Regions from separate parts of the Homo sapiens genome. Here region 2 is linked to region 1. The links are contacts of gene promoters, found by promoter capture Hi-C in blood cells and fetal thymus (Javierre and others, 2016). All regions are on one chromosome and are shown on one strand. Each heading gives the region's core, a stretch centred on a gene start or on the middle of the fragment in contact. The rest is flanking DNA. Distances are from core to core; before and after follow the strand shown.

What was found. Contacts are between HindIII fragments. The CHiCAGO score rates a contact against its expected background, and 5 or more counts as called.
Region 2: a fragment that was not itself captured here is called in contact with the fragment with the promoter of GPR173 in region 1 in 6 of 17 cell types (megakaryocytes, activated CD4 T cells, fetal thymus and 3 more); the score reaches 7.5 in megakaryocytes.

The regions. Positions count from the first base shown.
Region 1 is chrX:53,044,189-53,051,224 of GRCh38, forward strand. It overlaps GPR173 (G protein-coupled receptor 173), which reads left to right and starts at 4,601. Exons shown (of 2, transcript NM_018969.6): 1 at 4,601-5,296. The HindIII fragment of the contact is 17,268 bases long and covers 3,911-7,036 here.
Region 2 is chrX:53,220,844-53,223,676 of GRCh38, forward strand. It overlaps KDM5C (lysine demethylase 5C), which reads right to left. Exons shown (of 26, transcript NM_004187.5): 2 at 1-73. Among named protein-coding and RNA genes, the nearest start is that of KDM5C, 2.9 kb to the right of the region's middle. The HindIII fragment of the contact is 2,841 bases long and covers 1-2,671 here.

The sequences.
Region 1 (7,036 bases), core at 3,351-5,850:
TCTCCCCACCCCGCCCCTGACATTTTTGGGCTCCCACAGCTCTCAGTTCCCACCTTCACTTCACACTGTAATGAAACAATCTGATTGCCTCTTTTACTTTTTCATTTTTAAAAACTTTGTATTGAAGTAGTATAACACATAAAGTACTCATTTTCTCTCTCCTGCCACCATGTGAAGAAGGTCCTTGCTTCCCCTTCATCTTCCACCACGCTTGTAAGTTTCCTGAGGCCTCCCAGCCACGCAGAACTTTACAGGGCTTTGACACTTGGGTACACGTATCTCATCTAAAGAAGGCACTGACTTCTGCCAGTATCTGACACCAAGCTCAAGCTAACCAAAGCCTCATCTTTAGGCCTGGGCAAAGTTTATATCTTCCAGGTTACAGCAGTTCCATGTAAAGATGATGATCATGCAAGGATTCCAGCCAATTCTTGTCTCGGAATCGGACTCACCTGCTGATGCACCCTGGGGACCCTTAGACCAGGCATCCAGAGATTTCCAATCCCTGGACAGGCAAGGCCAGCACCCTTAAATTAGCAAGAAGAAGATACAGATGACTGGCCTCCTCCCTCATCAACCCTTAAGAATAAGGGATGGAAATCTCTGAAGGGTGAATGAATTAGGAAGAGCACTGGGTGGTTACAGGAGGATGAAAAAACTCAAACAACAGCTAAAACAAGAACTAGGCAAAGAAACAATGGGATAACAGAAAATCTGAAATAAGGGGGAGAAAATGGCCAGAATCCCAGCCAGGGTGACATGTCCATGACTCTTCTGGGAAAACCCAAATAAGGGAGAAAAGGGGTGGTAACCAGAGTGGGGGAGCTGAAATCCCCTCCTTTTCTAGAACATCTAATGATTATTCCACCCCCTAATTAAAGAAACACCCATAAAATTAGAAACCCAAACTCCCTTCTGTGCAACTCGTTCTCACAAACACGCCCGCACTTCTCTCTCTTAAGTGTTTACTTTTGCCTTGCAATAAAAGCTTCTTGCCTTTCCCTTCAAAAGAGAAGAGAAAAGTACTTGAAGTCAGGAGCAGTGGCTCATGCCTGTAATCCCAGCACTTTGGGAAGCAGGAGGACTGCTTGAGCCCAGGAGTTCAAGACCAGCCTGAGCAACATAGTGGGTCTCTGTCTCAATAAAAAGAAACAAAATAAAAGAAAAGCACTCGAGACATATAAATGAACACTCTCGATGAACTGTTACTAAGCCACCTGAGTAATCAGCTCCAAAATCAAGAACCAGAACATTCCCAGCACTCTAAAAAGTCTCTTTGGCCTGGCGCGGTGGCTCATGCCTGTAATCCCAGCACTTTGGAAGGCAGAGGTGGGCAGATCACCCGAGGTCAGGAGTTCGAATCCAGCCTCTACTGGCCAACATGGTGAAACTCCGCCTCTACTAAAAATACAAAAATTAGCCACACATGGTGGTGGCCGCCTGTAATCCCAGCTATTCAGGAGGCTGAGGCAGGAGAATTGCTTGAATCCGGAAAACAGAGGTTGCAGTGAGCCCAGATGGTGCCTCTGCACTCCACCCTGGGCGACAGAGTGAGACTCCATCTCAAAAAAAAAAATAATAAAAATAAAGAAAAGAAAAAAGAAAGAAAGAATGTCTCTTTAGGCCTCCTACTCAGACCCCAATGGTAATCACTATTCTGACTTCTATCACAATACATTGGTTTTGCCTGGTTTTGAACTTTATATGTATGGAATCATACAGTATTCTTTTGTCTGGTTTATTCTGCTCAGTGTAATGTTTGTGGGATTCATCCATATTGTAGTTGTAAGTCATTTCTTCTCATTGATGTATACTATTCCAATGTGCAAATATACCACAATTTATTTTTCATTCTCCTATTGATGGTATTTGGGTTGTTTCCAGTTTGCACTGTTACAAATAGTGCTTTTATGAACATTACCACAATGTCTTTTGGTAAACATATATATGCATTTTGGATGGGCACATACCTAAAAGTAGAACTGCTGGGTTATGAAGTATGCACGTGGTCGCCTTAGTAGATATTGCTAAACAGTTTCCAAAGTGGCTATATCAATTTATACTCTCATCAATACTGTATGAGAGCTCTTATCACTCCACATTCTCACCAATATTCGGTATTGTCTTTTTCTTTTTAGTCAATCTAGTGAGCATGGTTTCATTTTGTATTTTCTTGACTACCAATGAGGTTTAGCACATTTTCCTAAGTTTTTGGCCAGTTGGCTATCCTCTTTTGCAAGGTCCCTGTTCAAGTATCTTGTCTGTTATTCTTTTGGGTTATCTGTCTTTTTCTTATTGGTTGGTAAAAGTTATTTGTATATTCTGGATATGAGCCTTTTACTGGATATATACTTTGCAAATATTTTATCTAATTCTATGACTTATCTTTTCACTATTTTAATGGTATCTTTTGATAACCAGAAGTTTTAAATTTTAATGCTGTTCAATGTATCACTCCTTTCCTTTATGGTAATTACTTCTTGTCTTGTTTAATTCCTTCCTTACCCCAAAGTTATAAAGATATTCTCTTACATCATATTTTAGAAGACTTATTGTTTTGCCATTTTTTTTTTTTTGAGACAGAGTCTTGCTCTGTCGCCCAGGCTGGAGTGGAGTGGTACGATCTCGGCTCACTGCAGCCTCGACCTCCTGGGCTTAAGCAATCCTCCTACCTCAGTCTCTGGAGTAGCTGGGACCACAGGTGCGCACCACCACGTTCTGCCAATTTTTGTATTTTTAGTAGAGACAGGGTTTTGTCATGTTGGCCAGGCTTTTCTCAAACTCCTGAGCTCAAGCAATCTGCCTGCCTTGGCCTCACAAAGTTCTGGCATTACAGGCGTGAGCCCGTGCCCAGCCCGTTTTGCCTTTTTTTGTTTGTTTTTCGAGACAGAGTCTTGCTCTGTTGCCCAGGCTGGAGTGCAGTGGTGAGAACACAGCTCACTGCAGCATCCTGGGCTCAAGTGATCCTCCCACCTCAGCCTCCCAAGTAACTGGGACTACAGGCGCACACCACCATGTCCAGATAAGGTTTAAATTTTTTATAAAGACGGGGTCTCAATATGTTGTCCCGGGTGGTCTCAAACTCCTGAACTCAAGCAATCCTCCTGCCTTGGCCTCCGAAAGTGCTGGGATTACAGGTATGATCCACTACACCCGGCCTCCAAAACATTTTCTAATTTTCCATGGATTTTTCTCCCTCCCCAAAGCATGTGGGCATAAAAATGACCACCGGAGGGCCTTGTCAAAAGGCAGGTTTTGAAGCCCCATCTGAAAACCTCCTAGATTAGTATTTCTGGGAGGTAGGCTTGGGTATCTACACTTTACAAGTTCTCCAGGGGATTCAGATGCAAGTGGGTTCCAGGTCCACAGTCTGGTAGCAGAGCCTGCATTTCCTAAGGGCAGAGAGCATAGGTCTGAGTCACCCGGTACTGTTAGTGCCCAGCACTGGGCCTAACATAAAACCATTTGTCATAAATGAAGGAACCAATGGATGAAGGAAGAAAGGAAATAAAACACAATTTCTTATATCAAGATAATTTGAATTCTTGAATGCTGTAACTTAGGGGAACCACTGAAGCATCATTTGGTCCCAATTTAATCATATTTGAAACAAATATTTTTTTCCTTGTCTTCATATCTCTGCCTACCAAGCGTTCTCCTCACCTCTCCTATTCTGTTGTCCTGGGACATGGCTTTAAGTATGGGTTCTGCCTGTCTGCTGGCCCCGAGAAAGTGGGGATGGCACAGGAGATATCCTGAGAGGGGCTGTTCAGAGTTGGGCAGCGCTCCTTTCCCACCCCAACCCCCCAGCCAACCTCCAGGCCTTGCAGGGAAAATGCCCATAGAACCCCATTCTAAATCAGTTTATGAATCCCACCTCTCCGGGCCCTAAGCATGCCTCCCAGCCCAAAGCTTTTGAGAAACTTTCGCCGGACCTTTGTCCCGACCCAGATCCTAGCGTCCTCTATGCCCTGCCTCCTCTGCACTTGTAGCCCATGTGAGTTGCTCTCTCAGCAGCCTCTTGGCCATCTCTCCCCACCTCCACTCATGCCTCTCTCGAGCATCTCAGAAAGGCCCGAGCCTGACTTCCCCAGCCAGCTATTGTCCTGGCAGCACAGCCGCCACGCCAGCGTCCCCACCCAGTCAGCCAGCCGGCTGCTCCCTGGCCTCGCCAGCACCCCCCGCCCCCCCCCCCGCTCCCCGCCCCGCCCCAGGGAGGACCAGGCTGGCAGCTGGGAGTCTCCCTGCCTGCTCAGCCTTCCTCCTTCCCTCCCTCTCCCTCCCTGCCTCCCTCCTCCTCCGCCCGCCCCTGAGGCAGGGACCGTGCAAATCGAGGAGAGGGGGGACGGACAGGCCTGATGGGGTCCAGCTTAGGGCCCCGGACTCCCCACTGATGCTCTATCCAGGCTGGGTGTCCCCAGCATCGTGGGACCTGGATTTGTGTGCACCGGGGTGGTTCCCAGGCCAGGAGGGTCCCTCTGGCAGGCCCTTGGTGCCCTCGTTTTGCATGAGGACCCCCCTCGGATGCTCTGAGCCACCCTCCTCAACCCGGATCTAAAACCCGGGACACGGCTATCAGGCCAGCCTCTCTCTCCACCCCACCCCCTCTTTCTGGCGTCCATCCCCTCCCCAACACCACCTCTGCTGCTGCCTCTGGCTGTGGACCTGCACCTCTTCCCCATCCCCGCCAGGCCCGGGGAGCGGGGTGAGCCTGGATGAGAGCCCCCCCAACCTGGGGCTCTCCCAGGCCATGGCCCGTGTGCTCCCAGGGAGGAGCCCCGGACCCTGAGCATCTGCTGGAGGCTTGGCAGAGGCCCCGCGGGGACCGTGTCTTCTGAGGACAAAAGGCGGCGGCCAGCAGGCAGACGGAGGGGGGGGGTGGGGGGTGGGGGGGGTAGGGGGACCGGCAGCCAGGCAGGCAGACGGGTAGCAGGGGCCAGCACTGGCCCCCCTCCCAGCTTGGCAGTGGCATGAAGATGGGAGTGGGAGTGTATAGTGGAGGAAGCACCTGCCGGGACCCCCACCTGCCAGCTAGTTGGACACCCCAAGGCTGTGTGCTGCCCACCTGGTGTTCCCCAACACCCCCAGCCCTACCCAGTGCACCCCTCCGGTGCCTGCTTTCCCTGATGCCTGCGATTTAGACCAGCCCGGCTGTATCCACGGCAACAGAAGCAGGAGTGTCACTGGCCGCCAGATCACTGAGGGTCCCACAATGTGGCCCGGGCTGTGATTTACCTGGGTGAGACAGCTTGAGCCCCATCGTGGATTCCAAGACATCCCTGCTGAGAGAGCCAAGGTAAGCAGTCAGCATCCCTCCACCAAGGATGGGGGGCTGGGACTTCTGTTCTGTCTCCCCACACATACTTCAGAGTCTCCATCACTGCCATGCTCTCTGTCTCTGTCTGACTCTGTTAGTCTCTTTCTGCTCCATCAAGGGGCTCCTTGGTACCCAAGCCTGGGGACTCCTCATCTTCCCCCCATCTTCCCCAATCCCAAATGTCCCATGAGAAAGGGAACCACCACCTGTTTCCCCTCACAGGGTCTGTTTTTATCATCATGGTTGCGTTTGGGCATGAGGCTGTGTTAATCTTTCCTTGTGTGCTGGCTGTGGAAGGGATGCCTGGGAGCCCGGCGGCCGTGTTCCCTTCACAATGCCTGCACCCTGGGCAGGCTCAGCCTCTTGCGGCTGCTCCTCTCCCTCTCCCTCCTCCTCCACTCTCCTCCAGGATCCCTGGCCTGCTGGCCGGGTGTGTGTGTGTGTGTGTGTGTGTGTGTGTGTGTGTGTGTGCACCTGGGTAGCAAGCAGGTGGGTAGACATGACAGAGAAGCTGCTCCCAGCCCAGACCATCCCCCACTCCTTCTTTCCTCCTTTCCTTCCTTCCTTCCTTCCACCCTCCCCACCTCCCCATCTCTCCCTACAGGTAGCAGAGTTTTGCTCACTCACCACTGAAGATGTTGCCGATTCCCAGCTAGGGGGAGGAAGTCACTGTAGGGCTAAAGGACAGTGAAGTGGTGGTGGGGAGCACTTCCAGGCCCTAGGCTGCCTGATGGTTCTGTGGGGGCAAAGACCAATCCCATGACAACCTGCAGGGGCCAGGAACAACATGGTTGTCCCTACAGTGTGGGACCCAGCCTCCACCACAAGGCTCTCTGTCTCTGTTTCAGATGTCCATGTTGTGTCTGAGACCCCCCGGATCTTGTGGCCTTGTGCCCAGTAGCCGGAGGTCCATATATCTGGAAGGGCAGGAAAGCCTGGTACATGGAGAACATGGATCCTCCCAGGGACACTTCCCCCAACTACTAGCTCTGCAACTTTAGTGGAAGCATGCCACTTACCGAACCTCAGTTTTCCCATCTGTCAAAGAGACTGGTAACCCTTCCCTGATGGGTGTGTGTAGGGATTGAATGAGTTGGTGCATGTAAGTAAGAGATGTGCATCGAGGTGGCACTGAAGCAATGTCAGCAAAGCTCACAGTCAATATTGTTGCTGATTATTCATGATTAATAGTGTTATCGATTACTTGGAGGAGGGACAGGTCCTTCTTCTCCAGGGTCTCAGCAGAGATCTGGGGAGGGCAGCAAGTGGGCAAATGGAGGGTAGTGGAAGGGAGGCAGGAGAAGCCCTGTGTTAATACTTCTCATTTGTAGAGAATGATAAGTGGTTATGGGCAGAGCCTCCCTCCCCCACCCCACTCCAGTCTTCTTTCCCTGCACTTGTCCCTGTTTGTGCGCACACACACACACAGAACCTTGAGCCCCCATGAGCCAGCAGAGGCCTGGCTTGCAGCCTGCAGCCTTTCTGGCCCTGGTGATGTATGTGTCTCCCTGTTGAGGGGAGACTTGGCAAGAGTTTGGCCTGTGGTCAGTGGTTGGCAGGGCCTGGAGATGAGGCTGAAGCTCCTGAGATCACGGGGCTTCGGGTAGAGCTGGGGTGTGGCCCATGCAGCAGCCAGACCTGTGAGGGACGCGTCCCAGGGAGCTGCTCACCTAGAGCCTGGGGTGGGGGAAGAACGGGGTCTGCTGGCTGATTTCAGGG
Region 2 (2,833 bases), core at 1-2,500, 170 kb after region 1:
GCTCATTCAGCCTCTGGATTCGGGGGGTAAACCTGAAGTTGTCCACTTCCACAGCAAAGGGTGGCTGCCAGTCCTGAGAGGGTAGAGAGGGGAAAGGGACTTGAGTTATCTCAGCATAGTGTAAGACCGGAAGTCACCAAAAGCAGCTCGGAATCCCACTGGCACCTTCCCAAACCTCTAGCCACTCCAGACCCTTTAACCTGCAAACATCCTACCCAACCACCCACCCCCACCTCCCCCCAGAACTCACAAGAGTCTAGCAGCCCCTCAAGTCTGCACCCAAGGCCCCATGCACATGCCCTAGGAAACTTCTCCTGAGTCCCACCCAACAGTACAGTGCCAGGATTTCAAGAAATTAAGAGATGGAGCCTCTGTTTTGTTGACCCTAAACCTTCTCCACACCCACATTAATTCCTTATCCCCTAGGCACGTGCTGTAGGACACACAGGCCTGGGAGTACTGGAAAGCACACAGGATCTAGAGTCAGAAGATATGGGTTCATGTTCTAGATCCGCTACTTACTAGCTATGAGATTTTAGCTTTCTGAACCTGTTTTCTCATCTGTGAGGTGGGAATATGAACTCTAGCCCTGGCTTCCTTGCCAGACCAATATGGAAAATTAAAACTAGTTTTCAAATGAAAATGTTATTCAAAGGAGTCACCGTTATGACCTGACATCTAAGGCTGACCACACCTCACAATACACATGCAGGGTAGCTCAGGTCCGATTGTGGCAGGACGTAAAGGTTTGGGCCTTTAATGTTTGTTCTCTCAGTTTAAAGGGCCTGAGATAGACACTGCAGGGAAGAGCAAGGAACAGGGAGCAAGTATGTGTATCACTCACCCAGTCTGGAAGGCTTCCTGTAGATCCTCTCTCATACACCTGCCTGGTACAGGAAGAGGCAGGGGAGGAAGCCCCAGGGGGTGGGGGTAAGTGCTGGGATGCCTGACTGTGGTGGCAAAGAATGGGAGGATTTGGGGAGGGAAGTCAGGGAAAGATCATGAAAGTGGGAGACACTCTGCTCTGCCAAGTTGGAGCTTGCTGTGTCCTGCCCAAAGGTCAGCTGTGAAGAACCCCCTCTCCAACACCCCTTTCCAACCTCCTATGCAGACCTCTCCTTCCCAGAGCCCTGGCTCCTGCTGGGGTGGTGAAATCAACCTAAAGTAACCTAAACCAATGTTCTCATTTTATAAATGGGGAAAGTGAGGCTCAGAGAAAAAAAGTGAAATTTCCAAAATTACATGCTGAGTTAGTGGTGGGGCCAAGAACCCACGTCTTCTGACCTCTGATCCAAGGCCTTTGCACTACACCAGACATCAATGTTCATACATACATGCATACACGTGGGCGGGGGGGAGAGACAGTGAAAGAGAAGAAAAACTGTTGACCTCTTCTGCACACACACTTTTAGAAAATGGGCTAGAGGACTCATATTTTGCATGCATACACAGACCACACTCCCCTGCCCCTACCAGCCAAAGCAGGTGGCAAACATCTGGGGCTCAGTAAGCAGGGACAAAAAAAAAAAAAAACAGGCAGGCCAAAATGGTATGGCTCAAATCCAGACAAGCTCCCCATGCCCTCTTGCCTCTCATCAGGATAGGGCACTCCCCTCAGCACAGGTAACCCAGCTAAAAAGGTGCTCAAACCCAAAACTCCGGGCACCCTTCTTTCCTGCTGAATCAAGTTCTAGACAATCAGTGCAACATCAAGCACCTGACAGGAAATGGCAGCCCTGGAATGCTACGGCAGGAGCCATGGATGCAACAGATACCTGGGAAGGCCCTGCAAACCGCCTGCCTTCATCTCCAGACTACTGTATGCCAAATGTATGTTGGTATTACTGGGATGTGGTGATAAAAAAAAGGCTGGCTACCTGATGAAGAAAGCAAGATCCTTCCAAACTCCACTGGGTCTACTCAGGGTACCCACACTCTCCTCCCACCCATCTTTCCCAAGCGTAGCAGTCACCTGCCCAGCAATTCAGGCCCCAAACCATCCTTCCTCCAGCAAACCTCCAATTCCCAGGTACCCACCCATATACAGGTTCCCACCCTGGGCCCAAGCATCACTTGAGCGAGTACTTCAAACTTCAACCAGAAGAAGGCCAGCTGCCTAAAGGTGGCCTAGGAGCTGCCATAGAGAAGGAAAAAACAAAACCAAACCAGAGAGCCAGGTATCCTGGATTAGAGAGAAGCACACTGTTGAGCAGTGAAAAGGACGGCCTCCTGCTGGCCATGCACACCTGGGACATGTCACTCTTCCCCTTCCTGATGCCCCAAAGCAGGGTAACAACACCTACACAAGGCCAGCCTGCCTAAGTCAGTCCAAGATAGAAAAAAGGAATTCAGGCCTCAACTACCCCCTACGTCAGCTATGCCTCTTTTTCCCACAGGCTTGCCCAACCACTTCAGGGAGTGCCTCCTTGAGGCTGCCCAGGACTCCTGCCTCTCCCTTCCACTAGCCTTCCTGACCCTCTACCCACTGCCACTCCCTCACCATGGACAAGGATACCTCAGAAATCTGTGGCCAGACTCCAAGAAGGAAGAAATTCGCTTACCCAACACCTCCTAGAGGATCTATCTGAAACCATCCTAGATCTGTGGCTGAGCACCAGAAAGCACCAAGTTGGATAAGGAGGCCTGTGGTGCCCTCCTCAGGTGGGAATGAAGCTTCCTATTCCATTTCAGCCAGGAGACACCCACTCAAAAACACCCTTTTCCAGCAAAGCTCAATTTCTGCCCTTGGAATCCCAACTGATCACTGAACATTATCATCACTTTTCCACCATATCAGCAAGGCAGCAGCTTGCCCTAGCCCTTGGGAGACTTC